5 separate regions of the Homo sapiens genome follow, and regions 2, 3, 4 and 5 are each linked to region 1. Evidence: promoter capture Hi-C in human tissues and cell types (Jung and others, 2019). All regions are on one chromosome and are shown on one strand. Each heading gives the region's core, a stretch centred on a gene start or on the middle of the fragment in contact. The rest is flanking DNA. Distances are from core to core; before and after follow the strand shown. Region 1 holds the start of AIP (AHR interacting HSP90 co-chaperone). Region 2 overlaps PACS1 (phosphofurin acidic cluster sorting protein 1). Region 3 has its middle 6.3 kb from the start of NPAS4. Region 4 overlaps RIN1 (Ras and Rab interactor 1). Region 5 holds the start of SLC29A2 (solute carrier family 29 member 2).

Evidence for each region. The method cuts DNA at HindIII sites, captures the fragments that hold promoters and counts their contacts. A contact is called where the count stands out against the background at its distance.
Region 2: a contact is called between a fragment that was not itself captured here and the fragment with the promoter of AIP in region 1, in 1 of the 25 tissues and cell types used here (spleen).
Region 3: a fragment that was not itself captured here is called in contact with the fragment with the promoter of AIP in region 1 in 1 of the 25 tissues and cell types used here (spleen).
Region 4: a contact is called between a fragment that was not itself captured here and the fragment with the promoter of AIP in region 1, in 1 of the 25 tissues and cell types used here (spleen).
Region 5: the fragment with the promoter of SLC29A2 here is called in contact with the fragment with the promoter of AIP in region 1 in 1 of the 25 tissues and cell types used here (spleen).

What each region holds. Positions count from the first base shown.
Region 1 is chr11:67,481,649-67,484,352 of GRCh38, reverse strand. It overlaps AIP (AHR interacting HSP90 co-chaperone), which reads right to left and starts at 1,327. Exons shown (of 6, transcript NM_003977.4): 1 at 1,096-1,327. The coding sequence starts at 1,194. RefSeq lists an enhancer at 1,426-1,485. The HindIII fragment of the contact is 17,225 bases long and covers 1-1,825 here.
Region 2 is chr11:66,077,423-66,080,219 of GRCh38, reverse strand. The region is part of intron 1 of PACS1 (phosphofurin acidic cluster sorting protein 1); the gene reads right to left. Among named protein-coding and RNA genes, the nearest start is that of PACS1, 8.5 kb to the right of the region's middle. RefSeq lists an enhancer at 2,031-2,150. The HindIII fragment of the contact is 3,642 bases long and covers 1-2,797 here.
Region 3 is chr11:66,413,352-66,416,051 of GRCh38, reverse strand. It overlaps a transcript of NPAS4 not described here. Among named protein-coding and RNA genes, the nearest start is that of NPAS4, 6.3 kb to the left of the region's middle. RefSeq lists enhancers at 1,449-1,967, 1,968-2,486. The HindIII fragment of the contact is 7,963 bases long and covers 1-2,700 here.
Region 4 is chr11:66,329,756-66,332,631 of GRCh38, reverse strand. RIN1 (Ras and Rab interactor 1) reads left to right here. Exons shown (of 10, transcript NM_004292.3): 10 at 1-2,391. The coding sequence ends at 356. Among named protein-coding and RNA genes, the nearest start is that of RIN1, 5.2 kb to the left of the region's middle. The HindIII fragment of the contact is 6,220 bases long and covers 1-2,876 here.
Region 5 is chr11:66,370,347-66,373,046 of GRCh38, reverse strand. SLC29A2 (solute carrier family 29 member 2) reads left to right here and starts at 1,287. Exons shown (of 12, transcript NM_001532.3): 1 at 1,287-1,484; 2 at 1,722-1,803. The coding sequence starts at 1,456. RefSeq lists a silencer at 832-1,591. The HindIII fragment of the contact is 13,916 bases long and covers 1-2,700 here.

The DNA of each region.
Region 1 (2,704 bases), core at 78-2,577:
CAATGTTCGAATAGTGAGCACTCAATCAGTGCTGGCGATTGGTTATTTAACACCACCTGTTTCTGATCTTGGGGTGCCATTGTTCACATCTCTCCTTCTGATGTCTGTTCCATCCAGGATCCCCCTTGCCAGCCCCTTCTTCCAACGCCACCAACCCCCCAGCACATGGGGGCATGAACCCACACCACACATCCTGTCTCTTCTTAGAGAAGATATCTTTTCATACAGCGGATCACTCCAGCCATGCAGCTCCCCTCTGCTCTCAGGGCACTTATACTGCACTGGGCTAGGATGCTTAGCTGCCCGATTCGGCACGGTGCTGGCCAGGGGGCATGTGCTCATTTGCTCAATGTGCATGTCCTGCCTGACTGCTCTGCTGGGCACAGGGGCTGCCCCTGGGAGGTTCCCTACTCTGCAAACAAGTGGCAGCTGGGAAAAGCACTCCGGGAGGAGGCAACTACAGGAGAAGCAGGGAAGCCTGGAGTTGTAGGTTGGGGGAGAAGCGGGCAGAGGGGCTGGATCTGGGGGCCTGGCAAAAAGGAGAAAAGTGGGAGGTTCTTTACTTCCCAACCCTCATCTGTCCCAACAAGCCCCTAGTGCAGCAGGAAGGCTGCTAAAGAGTCCCTGTCTGGGAGACCTGACCTCTGGGCCCGTTCTCCGGCTTTGCACGTCCCAGGGTCTTGGTTTTCCACTCTAAACAGCGGCAGTTGGTCTAAGTGTTTTCAGAAGGCCCTTCCATCTACAAAGGATCATGAGCCTTGAAACCCAGATACCCGAGGACCACTCCCGGCCCTGGGTTTCCTCCAGCGTGGGGTCTGCCCAAGCACTGAGATCAACCCCCAACCCCAACCCGCTTGTGATGACTGACGGCCTCCCCCACCAATGCTGCTACAAGGCCGAGCCAGGGGGCGGGGCAGACAGGCCCGAATTCACCCCCTACTTAAATTCAGCCCAATCAGCGTCGAGTTCTGCATGTGAGCGGTAGGGGCAGTGGACGCTGCCCTCTGGGCATGCGCAACCTCTCGCCTAAGGCCTCCTCCCGCCTCGCATGCGCACCACGCCGCAGAGGGGGAGAAGGGTAGGGTAGACACGAACCTTGGTCCCATCTTGAAAGTCCGGGAGCTCTCCTCGGCCTTCCTGTATCACACGTTTTTGGATCCCGTCCTCCCGGAGTCTTGCGATGATATCCGCCATCCTCCTTCCCCGCTGCTCCCTTTCGGCAACTTCCGGACTCGCTCGGTAGCTTCCGGACTTGCTTCGGCAACTCCTAGCACCTCGGCAGCTTCCGAGCTAGCGCCATTTTGGTTGAGGGCAGAAGCCAAAAGGGACTGAGCGTGGAAACGGATGGTGATTGGTTCTCTGCGCTGGGGCTGAGCGCGCGCGTCTGCTCGGGGGCGGAGCCTAGGAATGTCTCGGGGCTGGACCCCAGCCTGTCAAGGAGGAAGGGCCGGGGTCCGCGGGCCGGGCGGGACGAGGACGTCCCTAACAATTGTCATTGAATTGATTGGGACTGCGGCCGTGTGGCACTTTGTTTGAAGTTGTGGATGGAATATAACAGCACTGCAGAGTTAGGAAAATGAAAAAAAAAAAAAACACCCGTAAGCCACACCCTCAAAGTGTTATGATTTTTGTGTATTTTCTTCCGGCTTTTTCTCTTTCGCATATCTAGTATGATTGTCGGGACTCTTGCATCCTGGATCTTCCTCTTTCAAAAAATAAAAAGAGGAAGAGGGAAAGAAAGGTGGAGAAGGAGACCAAGAGAGCCCATTGCGGGGTCGGAAATGAGTCATAGTTGTGCCCAATTAATATTAGGGAATAATCGATGAATGATAGAAATGAGGTACTTTAGCGCCGGGCGCGGTGGCCCTGTAACCCCACCACTTTGGGAGGCCGAGGCGAGAGGATCGCTTGAGCCCAGGAGTTCGAGGCTGCAGTGGGCCGTGTTCGTGCCACTGCACTCCAGGCTAGCCGACAGAGCGAGATGCTGTCTCAAAACAAAACAAAAAAAAAAAATTAAATTAAAAGAAAAGAGAAATGAGGTACTTTGGGGCTAAAACAACTTTTGTTTTTCTTTTTTTGAGACGGAGTCTCGCTCTGTCACCCACGCTGGAGTGCAGTGGCACAATTTCAGCTCACTGCAAGCTCTGCCTCCCGGGTTCACGCCATTCTCCTGCCTCAGCCTCCCGAGCAGCTGGGACTACAGGCGCCCGCCACCATGCCCGGCTAATTTTTTGTATTTTTAGTAGAGACAGGGTTTCACCGTGTTAGCCAGGATGGTCTCAATCTCCGGACCTCGTGATCCGCCCACCTCGGCCTCCCAAAGTGCTGGGATTACAGGCGTGAGCCACAGCGCCCAGCTGATATGAAACATTCTAAATAAAATACTAGGCTAATTGAATTCACTAATGTCATGTAAAAATGCATCAGTATGGGGCAGGTGTGGTGGCTTATGCCTCTAATACCAGCACTTTGGGAGGCCAAGGCAAGTGGATCTCCTGGATCTCCTTGAGCTCACAAGTTCAAGACCAGCCTGGACAACATGGCAAAATACCATCTTCACCAAAAATACAAAAAATTAGGTGGTGTGGTGGTGCACGCCTGTGGTCCCAGCTACTCAGCAGGCTGAGGCTGGAGGATTGCTTGAGCCCAGGAGATGGAGGTTGTAGTGAGCCAAGATCGCACCACTGCACTCCAGCCTGGGTGA
Region 2 (2,797 bases), core at 176-2,675, 1.4 Mb after region 1:
ATTTGGTGAATGGATGAATTGTGCATAACAGATAGTCATTCAATAAACATTATAAAACACTATAGGAAAATCAGTGTCATTGATTTGACAAATGTAGTTATTGAGCATCTATAAAGTAACTAAATAAAGGAACAAGATTATTTCCAGTAATGGCGAGTAGGTGTGAAGTAGCTTTATAAACTCCCAGAAGGGGTTGGGCAGGTGAGGACAGCCTTCCAAGGTAGCAGGTCAGTGAAGAGCTGAATGATACCCAGGAGCTAGTCTCAGCGATCCAAGGATCCAGGGAAAGGGTATCACAGGTAGAGGGAACAGCAAGTGCAAAAGCCCTAAGGCGAGGGTGACCCACCGCAGGAACAAGGGGAGAACGCAAAGGTGAGGTCAAAGACATGGGAAGGGGCTGCATCGTTTAGCATCTCCTGAACCATGAAAAGGGGATCTTTTTTAAGTATGACGGAAAGTTACTGGATGGTGTCTCTTATCTTCACCCACTAGAATGCAGACTTCATGAGATCAAGGATTTTGCTTGCGGCACATATCAGCTGGTCTATAAGCTTTTGCTGAATGAATGAACTGGAAGATTATAGAGGGGGTGTGACAAGTTCTGATTTTCATTTTAAAATATCACTCTGAACTGCCACTAGTGGTTACTTTCTGGGAAGGACTAAGGTGGCAGAGGTTGGGAGGGATTACAATGCAATGTGTTTGAGAGGTACCATAAAACAGAAAAACAGAAGGGAAAAGCTGCTCCCTAAACCCTGAAGCCATTTGGTGTTTGTAAACAAGAGGCAGGAAAAGGTTAGTGAGGAGGGATCAGTAAATGATGACTGATGCCCCAAGCCTTAGTGTGTTCTAAACTTTTTTTTTTTTTACCCAGACCTTTTCCCAGCAATAAACTATTAAAAAAAAAAAAAAAAAACCTGCTACAAAGAATGTCTCACCTACCAAGAGGAACAAAAGAAAACTCACAGACAGATACAGAAGTGCACATACTCACACACAAACACACACAATGTTTCAGAAAAACAACTGAAAAGAGGCTGGGCGGTGGCTCACGCCAGTAATCTGCTGACGCGGGCTTGAGGTCAGGAGTTCAAGACTAGCCTGGCCATCATGGTGAAAGCCTGTCTCTACTAAAAATACAAAAATTAGTCGGGCATGGTGGTATGCACCTGTAATCCCAGCTACTTGGGAGGCTGAGGCTGGAGAATCACTTGAACCCGGGAGACAGAGGTTGCAGTGAGCCAAGATAGCGCCACTGCACTCCAGCCTGGGCAAGAGAGCAAGACTCTGTCTCAAAAAGAAAAAGAAAAGAAAACAGCTGAAAAGAAAAAACGCCTTCCTATATCTCAGCACAATAACCAGCCTAGCCTGGGTGCGGTGGCTTACGCCTATAATCCCAACACTATGGTAGGCTGAGGCGGGAGGATTGCTTGAGCCCAGGAGTTTGAGATCAGCCTGGGCAGCATAGTGGGACCTTGTCTCTGCAAAAAATTAAAAAGTTAGCAGGGCATGTTGGCATGTGCCTGTGGTTCCAGCTACTTGGGAGTCTAAGGAGGGAGGATCACTTGAACCCAGGAGGTTGAGGCTGAACAGAGTGAGCTGTGTTCATGCCACTGCATTCCAGTTTGGGCAACAGAGTGAGAGCCTATCTCAAAATCAAAAACAAAATAACCAGTCTAAAATCCTTCAGAGACAATTAACATGCCAGTCATACCCAAAATGTTAGCTGGGGGAAATCCTACTCATAATAAAGTTTTGAGAGGTAGTTTGGAAAACTAGTTTAGAAAGAAATCACATAACCACTAATGTGTCCAAAAGATCTGTCATTTGGAGGAGTTACACAGACTACAAAGAAGGGAACAGGTGTTACAGTAGGGAGCAAATTTAAGGCGTCACTCCTTTCACATCTACCTATATTTATACGAGGTCACTAAAAAACATACACAGCAAATTACCCACATCACAATTTCTAAGACGCATACAGTTCTAAAAAGTGTTTTTGCCAAAATGACCTGTGGATACCACTGTATTTACAAAACTAAAAGTACTGAAAGTGTTGAAAGGATGAAGGGAGCCCAGGTTGATCTGAGAGTGGACACAGATCATTACTCACAAGGAGAAAAGAGGAAGAACGATATTTGAGATTCAGAAAAATTGTTGAAGCTAGCACTAAACTCAAATATTCCAACCTTTGTTGTACCTTAAAAACCTTACAGTTGGCCAGGCATGGTTGCTTACAACTGTAATCCCAGCACCTTGGGAGGCTGAGGTAGGTGAATCACCTGAGGTCAGGAGTTCGAGACCAGCCTGGCCAACATGGTGAAACCCCGTCTCTACTAAAAATACAAAATTATCCATGCATGGTGGTGCATGCCTGGAATCCCAGCTACTCGGGAGGCTGAGGCAGGAGAATTGCTTGAACCTCGGAGGCGGAGGTTTCCGTGAGCCGAGACTGCGCCTTTACACTCCAGCCTAGGTGACAAGAGCAAAACTCCGTCTCAAAAAAAAAAAAAAAACAAACTTACAATTTAAAAGGATCTGCACAAAATTAAATAAACAAACCTGCCATCAACACTATTTTATCACCTATGCCTCACCATCTACCTCAACACAAGGAAAGTAATGACTTAGAACATTCTCTATTCACCCATTTTTGTTTGAGACAGGGTCTTACTCTGTTGCCCAGGCTAGAGTACAGGGGCGAGATCATGGCTCACTGAAGCCTCGACCTCCAGAGCTCAAGTGCTCTTCCCACCTCAGCCTCCTGAGTAGCTGGGACCACAGGCGCACGCCACCA
Region 3 (2,700 bases), core at 69-2,568, 1.1 Mb after region 1:
TAGCTCACTGCCACCTCAAACTCCTGGGCTGAAATGATCTTCTGTGTCAGGATCTCGAGTAGCTGGGACTACAGGCATAAACTACTACACCCAGATAATTTAAAAAAATTTTTTCTGCCCAGGCTGGTCTTGAACTCCTGACCTCAAGCAATCCTCCCACCTTGGCCTCCCAAAGTGCTGGAATTACACGTGTGAGCCACGACACCCAGCCTTGACTGATATTATGATGCTCATTTGATAGATGGTGAAACAAAGGCTCAGAGATAGATAATGACTTAATCAAAGTCACACAGCAAGTCTGGCAATGCTGAGCCTCACCCCTAGTTCCTGCTCCCAACCCAAGCTTTCTCTTTTGCACCACGTGATAGGGCTAGGGTTTACAAACTATGGACTGCAAATCTAGCCACATCTAGCCTGCTGCCTCCTTTTGTAAATAAAGTTTTATTGGAACACAGTCACATTCATTCATTTACTCATTGTCTATGGCTGTTTTCACATTACAATGGAAGAGCTGAGTAGTTGCAACAGAGACCATATGGTTCAAAAAGCCTAAAGAACTTTTTGACACTTTTTACTAATTGATCCTTTAGAGAAAAAGCGTGCCATCCTTAGACCAGAGGATGAGTTCACACCAGGAATATCTCCACTTGTTTCTCTTTCTCACCCAGAAAGCTCTCTTAACCCAGGGTATACCAAGCTATCATTTCAGCCCCCTTTACTGTTCCAAAGGCCATGGAGAAGTAGTGCTCCTGGACAACTTAAAGGAGGAGAGGTGGGAAGCCCAATGGGTCAGGCTCCTTATTGGTTTCCAGCCCCTTTTGTGGCTGTGGAGATGTACCCTCCCCATGCAGGATGATGCTCCACTTCCTGCACCAGGAGTTGGAACAGGCAATGAGGAGGCAGGGTACCCCATTCCATCCCTATTCCGACCCTAGTCTTCAGGACTGCATTTTGGGCAGGGGGGTCTCAGGGCTGGTGATTAACGAATTGTCAGGAAGACAAAATTTACATATGGGAGGAAAAGGAAGGTATTGTGGGATATTGGGCCTCCCGAAGCCTCCAGTCTGACCCAGGGGGGAAGAATCTCTCTATGCCTTCTCAGAGAGGTTGATTAACTTGCCTAGGATCACACAGCTAGAATGAGATAAATCCACAATTGAACCCAGGTTTTCCTGACTTCTACTGTTTTTTTTCTAGGTTGTTCTTTTGAATTGGTGGATTTGAAACCAGGGAAAGGTTTTCTAACAGATTCCTAAGCACCTCCCCATCCTGCGTCCATGGCTCCGCGGTCAGTGCAGTGAGAATAGGAAACCCACGCAGAGCTGGCTTGTGCAGTGACCGTGTTGTCTTCCGCTGCATCTTAGCAAGCTGTTTTCCTTTTCCTGAGGCCTTTTCATTATGCTATCACTCCCTCAATTCTACTTGCACATGAAAGCATTCAGAACATTTTATCTATTTATGGTTATGAAATCAACAAAGCTCATGTAAAGAGGGTGCAGGCTGGCACCCACGCATTGAGACGGCCAGAGCTGGGTGAATGAGCTGAAAGCCAGGAAGGTGAGGGACATAGAACCATGGAGGGGGTGGGAGAGGGAGAGTAGAGCCCAGGTGGGAAAAGATGAAACTTTTGTGGGCAATGTCCTGAAGGCAGGGCTGAGAGAAGAGGATGCAAGGAATGCAGTGAGGAGCAAGTCAGAGCAGCCACATTCCAAGAGGGGAAAGAAACCTAATCAACTAAAGCCACTTTTCAAATGCAGAGCAGCGACCAATACTCTTGACCTGCCCTGGGGAGGCTGGAGGAGGCGGATTTTCCTCACATTCATTTTCAGAGTCCTCTCCACCACCACTCCCAGCTGGCAAATTCTGGCCCTTCTGGTCCTCCAGTGAGGTCCGGGGACCCCCTCAGTGCCCCCCAGCCCCTGTGCTTCCTCGTCACCGCACTCTGCACCCTGCATTGTCCCTGTGTGTTTACTTGGCTGTCTCCCCTACCAGCATCTACAACTGGTCTTCATGTTCCCAGCATCCAGCACAAGGCCTGGCACAGGGCAGGGGCTCAGGCATGTAAGTCATTCATGCAACAAACAGCTGAGGGCAGAGTTTGTGCCAGCCTCTGCAGTGATGTGATGGTGCCCACAGACAGCTGGTCTTGGCCTCATGGAACCTGCAGGCTGGTGAGAGAGCAAGGGGTCCATCCAGCCACTTCAGTGGGATACTGCTGTCAAGGAGGCATGCTGGGAGTTTGGGGAGAGCAAAAGGAGGGGTGACCCTGCCTGAGGAGTTGGCACCGGCCTCCCCAAGCAGGTGCATTTGAGTTGAGCTGCTGGTGGCAAGTCAGTGTTGACTGGGCCAGGCTGTGCTGGGTGGGTGGCTGGGTGGACAGAGGAGTGTGGCCTCATAAATGAGATTCAACACAGTGCCAGGTAGCCACAAAAGAAGCCACTGTAGCTGAGGTTGTGTTAACAGGGACATGCAGCAAAAGTGGAGAGAGGGCAGCCTCTGTCAGGGCCAGGAGGTTTGGCTCTAGGACTTATGCTATGGGTCCAAGCCTAGCCTTGAGCAGAGCAGCCAGTGAGGAGGAGCCAACTGCACCCAGGGCTGTGAGGCAGGGCCCAGGCCATCCCCCAGGCCTGCCTCTGGTAAGCCCTCCAGCCTGTCTGGCCTCATGCACCCCCTTGCCTCTCTTCCAGCTGCATAAGCCTT
Region 4 (2,876 bases), core at 116-2,615, 1.2 Mb after region 1:
CCCAGCCCAACACTTTTGGCCTCTTCCTGTACAAGGAGCAGGGCTACCACCGCCTGCCCCCTGGGGCCCTGGCCCACAGGCTGCCCACCACTGGCTACCTCGTCTACCGCCGGGCGGAGTGGCCTGAGACCCAGGGGGCTGTGACAGAGGAGGAGGGCAGTGGGCAGTCAGAGGCAAGAAGCAGAGGGGAGGAGCAAGGGTGCCAGGGAGATGGGGATGCTGGGGTCAAAGCCAGCCCCAGGGACATTCGGGAACAGTCTGAGACAACTGCTGAAGGGGGCCAGGGTCAAGCCCAGGAAGGCCCTGCTCAGCCAGGGGAACCAGAGGCAGAGGGAAGCCGGGCAGCAGAGGAGTAGCTTGAAGTGGCCAGAAGGGTCATTCGGGGCGGGAGACCCTGAGCCTGCTGAGAAATCCTTTTAGCGCCAGCAAGCCCCACCCAGGGCCCTGTCCTGTGTCTGCCACCACCTTTGTCTGATACTTGTTTCCAGGGAAGCTGGGGGAACTGCCACATCTGAGGAACTGGAATAAAGATGAGGGGGCTTCGGGGGCCCCCAGACTGTGTGCCCAAGGCCCCTTGCCTCTTGTTCTTCTCCCCCAGCTGAGGGTGAGCCAGCCTGCAATGAGGGTGTGCCAAGTGGGGGCGAATCCGACAGATGCCCAACCTCTGACGTGGGGAGGGTGACGGTCTCAGCTCCTTTTACCCTTCCCCTCATGGGCATGGCTGAGGCAGGGCTCCACCCAAGTATCTCCCACCAGGCTGGGACTTCCAGACCCTAAAAGGTTCCAATGGCTCTTAGGTGTCAGGAGGATTTAGAGAGGCCACAGAACAGCAGCAAAGGCTTGGGGCCCACCCCTGTCCTGGACACCAGAAGGACCTGCACCTGCAAGCCTCAGTACTCTCATCTGTAAAGTGGGGACACTATTGCTGCCCTGCTCGGCTCCCAGAAGTGTCCCAGTGATCAAAATGGGTGATTTTGCTACAAGCAGAGCTCATGGCAGAAAGGGAGGGAGAGAGCTGGGCTGCTAACTCTCTCCCGGAGTCCGCTCTCTGCCAGACAGGGCTCCCACCTGCTGATGCCCAGTTCAGGGAGGTTATTCCCCTGGAAATCAGGCCCTGGGGAGAAAGTACCCAAGTTACAGTCTCTCCCCAAGATTTGGAGTCCTCCCAGGCCCTCCAGCATCTCTGGGGAGATCCACCAGCTGGCAGATAAGCTTCCAGAATGGAGAGGGGGCTCAGAAACCATGCTCTCTGCACTAAACTCTTGGCCCTCACAAAAGCTTTACTTGGCCATGACTTGTTGGGCCCACTGAGGGTCAGGAAAGTGACTCCCAGGATGTCATATAGCAAGTCCTTAAGGGTTCCCCCGCCCAAACCAGGGCATCAGGTTCCAACTCCACCCTCCATTCTAAGCCACCCACAAAGGCCGGGGCAGCCCCCAAGGAAGCCCAGAGCAGGCAGCAAATCCAAACAAGGAAAAGTGCCGACCACCAACCACGAGGGGGTGTGCACGGCCCGGGAATCTGCCGAGAGGGTGACCACCCAGGGGTGAGGGCGCCTCCAAGGCTGCAGCAGCAGAGGGGGTCCCGGGCCTTGCAGTCCAGCAGCATCAGGCAACCTGGGGACAGCGCAGGGGCCAAGGCCACTGGCCCCCAGGTCCCTTAGATTCTGGGGTCTGGGTAAGGCCAGCCTCTTGGGGGCCATCCCCAGGAAGGAAGGAATTGTCCCCTTATGGAGGATGACCCCAGAGGCTCTCTCCTCGGGCACTGAGCACAGAGGGGACGTCAGCCCAAATGTCAGACATGACAACTGGGAGGTAGAAATCGTGGACATTGGCTTTTTGGGTTTTTTTGTTTGTTTGTTTGTTTGAGATGGAGTTTTGCTCTGTCGCTCTGGCTAAAGTGCAGTGGTGCCATCTCGGCTCACAGCAACCTTCGCCTCCCAGTTCAAGTGATTCTCCTGCCTCAGCCTCCCGAGTAGCTGGGACTACAGGTGTGCACCACCACACCTGGCTAATTTTTGTGTTACTAGTAGAGACGGGGTTTCCCCATGTTGGCCAGGCTGGTCTCAAACTCCCGACCTCAGGTGATCCGCCCGCCTTGGCCTCCCAAAGTACTGGGATTACAGGCGTGAGCTACCACACCCAGCCAGACATTGACTTTCAGATGAGCAGTCCAGATACAGCCCAGTTGCACGGCTCCCATTTTTTTTGTCACTAGGCCACCAGCAGCTCTTCCCTCCCCACTTCCACGCCCTCCCAAGGTTCTCGCTGATAGGAAGTGTCCCGTTGGCTCTTCTATTCCCCTCCCTGTTTCACCACTCACCCCTAGTGCCTCACACAGTCCAATGCTGAGCACAAATGCCATAGGTGTTCAATAAATGTTGTTCACTGATTGGAGTTTGATAACCAGGAGTGAGGGACAGTGAGGCAGAAACCTGGGGAGTATAAGGGAGGACTCGGTTCTGGGAATCAAACACGGGATGTGTCAAGCTCAGTCCCAGAGGAAGGACCTGGAATGTTTGTAGAGGGTGCTCGGAGGATCCCAGGGGCCGGATGTACAACTGGCCTCATGGGAATGAGGCTCTGGGGCCTCTACAAGCCCTTCCCACCCTTGCCAGGCTCAGCATGACCTGACCCCCTCCCTGCCCTCCCCAGTGATGGGGCACCACAGGGAGCTGCTGCCTGGGTCTTGTGGTTTTTCTTCTCAAGAAACTCTGGGCTGGGCCTGGTGGCTCACGCCTGTAATCCCAACACTTTGGGAGGCCGAGGCCGGTGGATCACCTGAGGTCAGGAGTTCAAGACCAGCCTGGCCAGCATGGTGAAACCCCGTCTCTACTAAAAATACAAAAATTAGCCAGGCGTCGTGGCACACACCTG
Region 5 (2,700 bases), core at 38-2,537, 1.1 Mb after region 1:
CCTTGACATATTCAGAGGCTTGAAAGAAAATGGGAAGAATAACTTTCTCTTTCGGTGTAATTTAATGCTGTCTCTGTTCTCCCTAAAATCACCTGCATTTTACTGCAACCACCCATTTATCACTCAACGGCGCTAGATGCTGCCAGTAAACCAATGGACCAGATAAGCACAGCCTCTGCCCCTACAGACTCTCAGTCGGCTGGAGGAAAAACATAAGCAACCTGGGAATGGCTATAAAATGTCATTGCTTAAGAAAATAGTTTGTGGCCGGGCGTGGTGGCTCACGCCTGTAATAGCAACATTTTGGGAGGCCGATGCGGGCGGATCACCTGAGGTCAAGAGTTCGAGACCAGCCTGGTCAAAAGATGAGTTCGAGACTAGACTGGCCACCTCTTCAGTAGAGCTGGTGAAGCCCCGTTTCTACTAAAAATACAAAAATTAACCGGACGTGGTGGCATGCGCCTGTAGTCCCAGCTACTCCTGAGGCTGAGGCACCAGAATCGCTTGAACCTGCCTGGGAGGGGGAGGTTGCAGTGAGCCAAGATCACGCCACTGCACTTCCGCCTGGGCGACAGAGCGACACTCAGTCTCAAAAAAACTAGTTTGTGTTTTGGAGCCTCTCACTTCTCCAGCGTCCCCGATACGCCCGGGGATTGCAGAGAACCCACACCTATTCGTAGATTATGAGAGTAGGAGCAAATTAATGATTTATAGTCTTTTCAAATTTTTTTTTTTAACAGAAAAAGAGTAGGGAGTTGAAAGTAATGCTGTTTTTTTCCAGGCACTCCCGGGGACCCAGCGCGGCGAAGCCCGCCAGGATCGCGGGCGACCTGTGGCAGCTCTGGTTCCCCCGCCCGGGCCCGGCTCGGGTTACGCTCTGGGCGGGGACTCCGCAGCGGCTCCCTAGTTAGGGGGCGCCCCGGTGGGTTCCAGCTTTAGGGGTCGCAGGAGCGGCTCTGGCATCACCTCGGAGCTGACGAAGCGGGAAGAGCCCCGCACCAGTGCTGCCCCTACAGAGCTCTCGGCGGGGGGTGGAGGTGAGGTTACACCTCGTCCCTACCCCCGCCTTCCCCTCCGCCGCAGGGATCCGGGACCCGCCCCCGCGGAGAGGACGGGGGGCTGCGGGGAGGGGCTGTGCGGGGAGCGGGCGGGTTCCGCAGGCCCCTAGGTGGGGCGGGGCCCGAGCCAGAGTCGAGTCCCTGAGGCGGGTGGGGGAAGGAGAGACGGGTGGCGCGACCCTCTGTCCCCGCCTCGGGGCGGAGCCCAGGTCCCAGCCTGCGGAGCGCGAGACACGCCGAAATCCGCCCGAGGCTACCTGTGCGACTCCAGCCGCCCTGCACCGGAATCTGGGGAGACCCGCCCCCCGCCCCACCGGTCTGCGGCCCTCCGCCCCAGCGCAGGTGCAGGTGCGGCTTCTCTGCCCCTTTCACCCCAGGCGCATCCGCCGCGGCGGCCATGGCGCGAGGAGACGCCCCGCGGGACAGGTGAGTGGGCCCGGGTGCGTTGCAAGTGGCCGGGGGCGTTGCAGACCCGCTCCCTGAAGGCGCTCCGAGGCTCAGAGAAGACCGGATCGAACTACAATTCCCATCAGCCGACTCCCTCGGCCGCCGGAACCGGGGTGATCGGGGTTGTAGTCCGCTCCGGAGGGGGTGGCCTGGGAGGCGGGAGGGCCTGCGGAGGCGGGTGCGTCCTCGGGGTGACCTTCCCACCGATCCCCACAGCTACCACCTGGTCGGGATCAGCTTCTTCATCCTGGGGCTGGGCACCCTCCTTCCCTGGAACTTCTTCATCACCGCCATCCCGGTGAGACTCCTGGCGGCGTGGCAGCCTCGTGGCCACAGCCAGCACCCCTCCCTCCAGCCCTTTGGATGAAGCTTAGCGGGCGCTTCCTCACCGCGCACCTGTGACCCCTCGTTGAGCTCATTATGGGCTGAAGCTCGGAGAGGGGAATGCTTCCCCCGTGGCTAGGAAAGTAGAACTTCAGCAATGCCCACATCTCAGAGGGGCAAGGCCACCAGCCCACAGGGTCTGGAATGAGCAAAGGCGCTGCCACCCCTCTCTGTGTGTCGTTATTCCTGAGTCAGTCACCCCAAAAGTCGGTTATCGAACGTTTGATTTTCTTTGAAATACCATGAATTTCATTCATTCACTCATTCATTCAACAAACTTTTTTTTTTTTTTTTTTTTTGAGACAGAGTCTGGCTCTTTCGCCCAGGCTGGAGTGCAGTGGCGCCATCTCGGCTCACTGCAAGCTCCGCCTCCCGGGTTCACGCCATTCTCCTGCCTCACCCTCCCGAGTAGCTGGGACTACAGGCGCCCGCCGCCACGCGCGGCTATTTTTTTTTGTATTTTTAGTAGAGACGGGGTTTCACCGTGTTAGCCAGGATGGTCTCGATCTCCTGACCTCGTGATCCTCCCGCCTCGGCCTCCCAAAGTGCTGGGATTACAGGCGTGAGCCACCGTGCCCAGCCTCATTCAACAAACTTTTAATGTGCATCTACTGTGGAGCAGGCACTGGGGACACAGGAGGAAACAGCAGGGAGGCTCTTCAGGGAAGGCAGAAATGTGGGGTTTGCATTGTCTTTGGGACCGGGTTATTCATCTGTATTCACTGCAACAACTTTGCAAATGCTTCTTGGGTACTGGCTCTGTGCTGGGCCCTGGAAACCCAGAGATGAATCAGCCCCTGGGCTTGAGAGC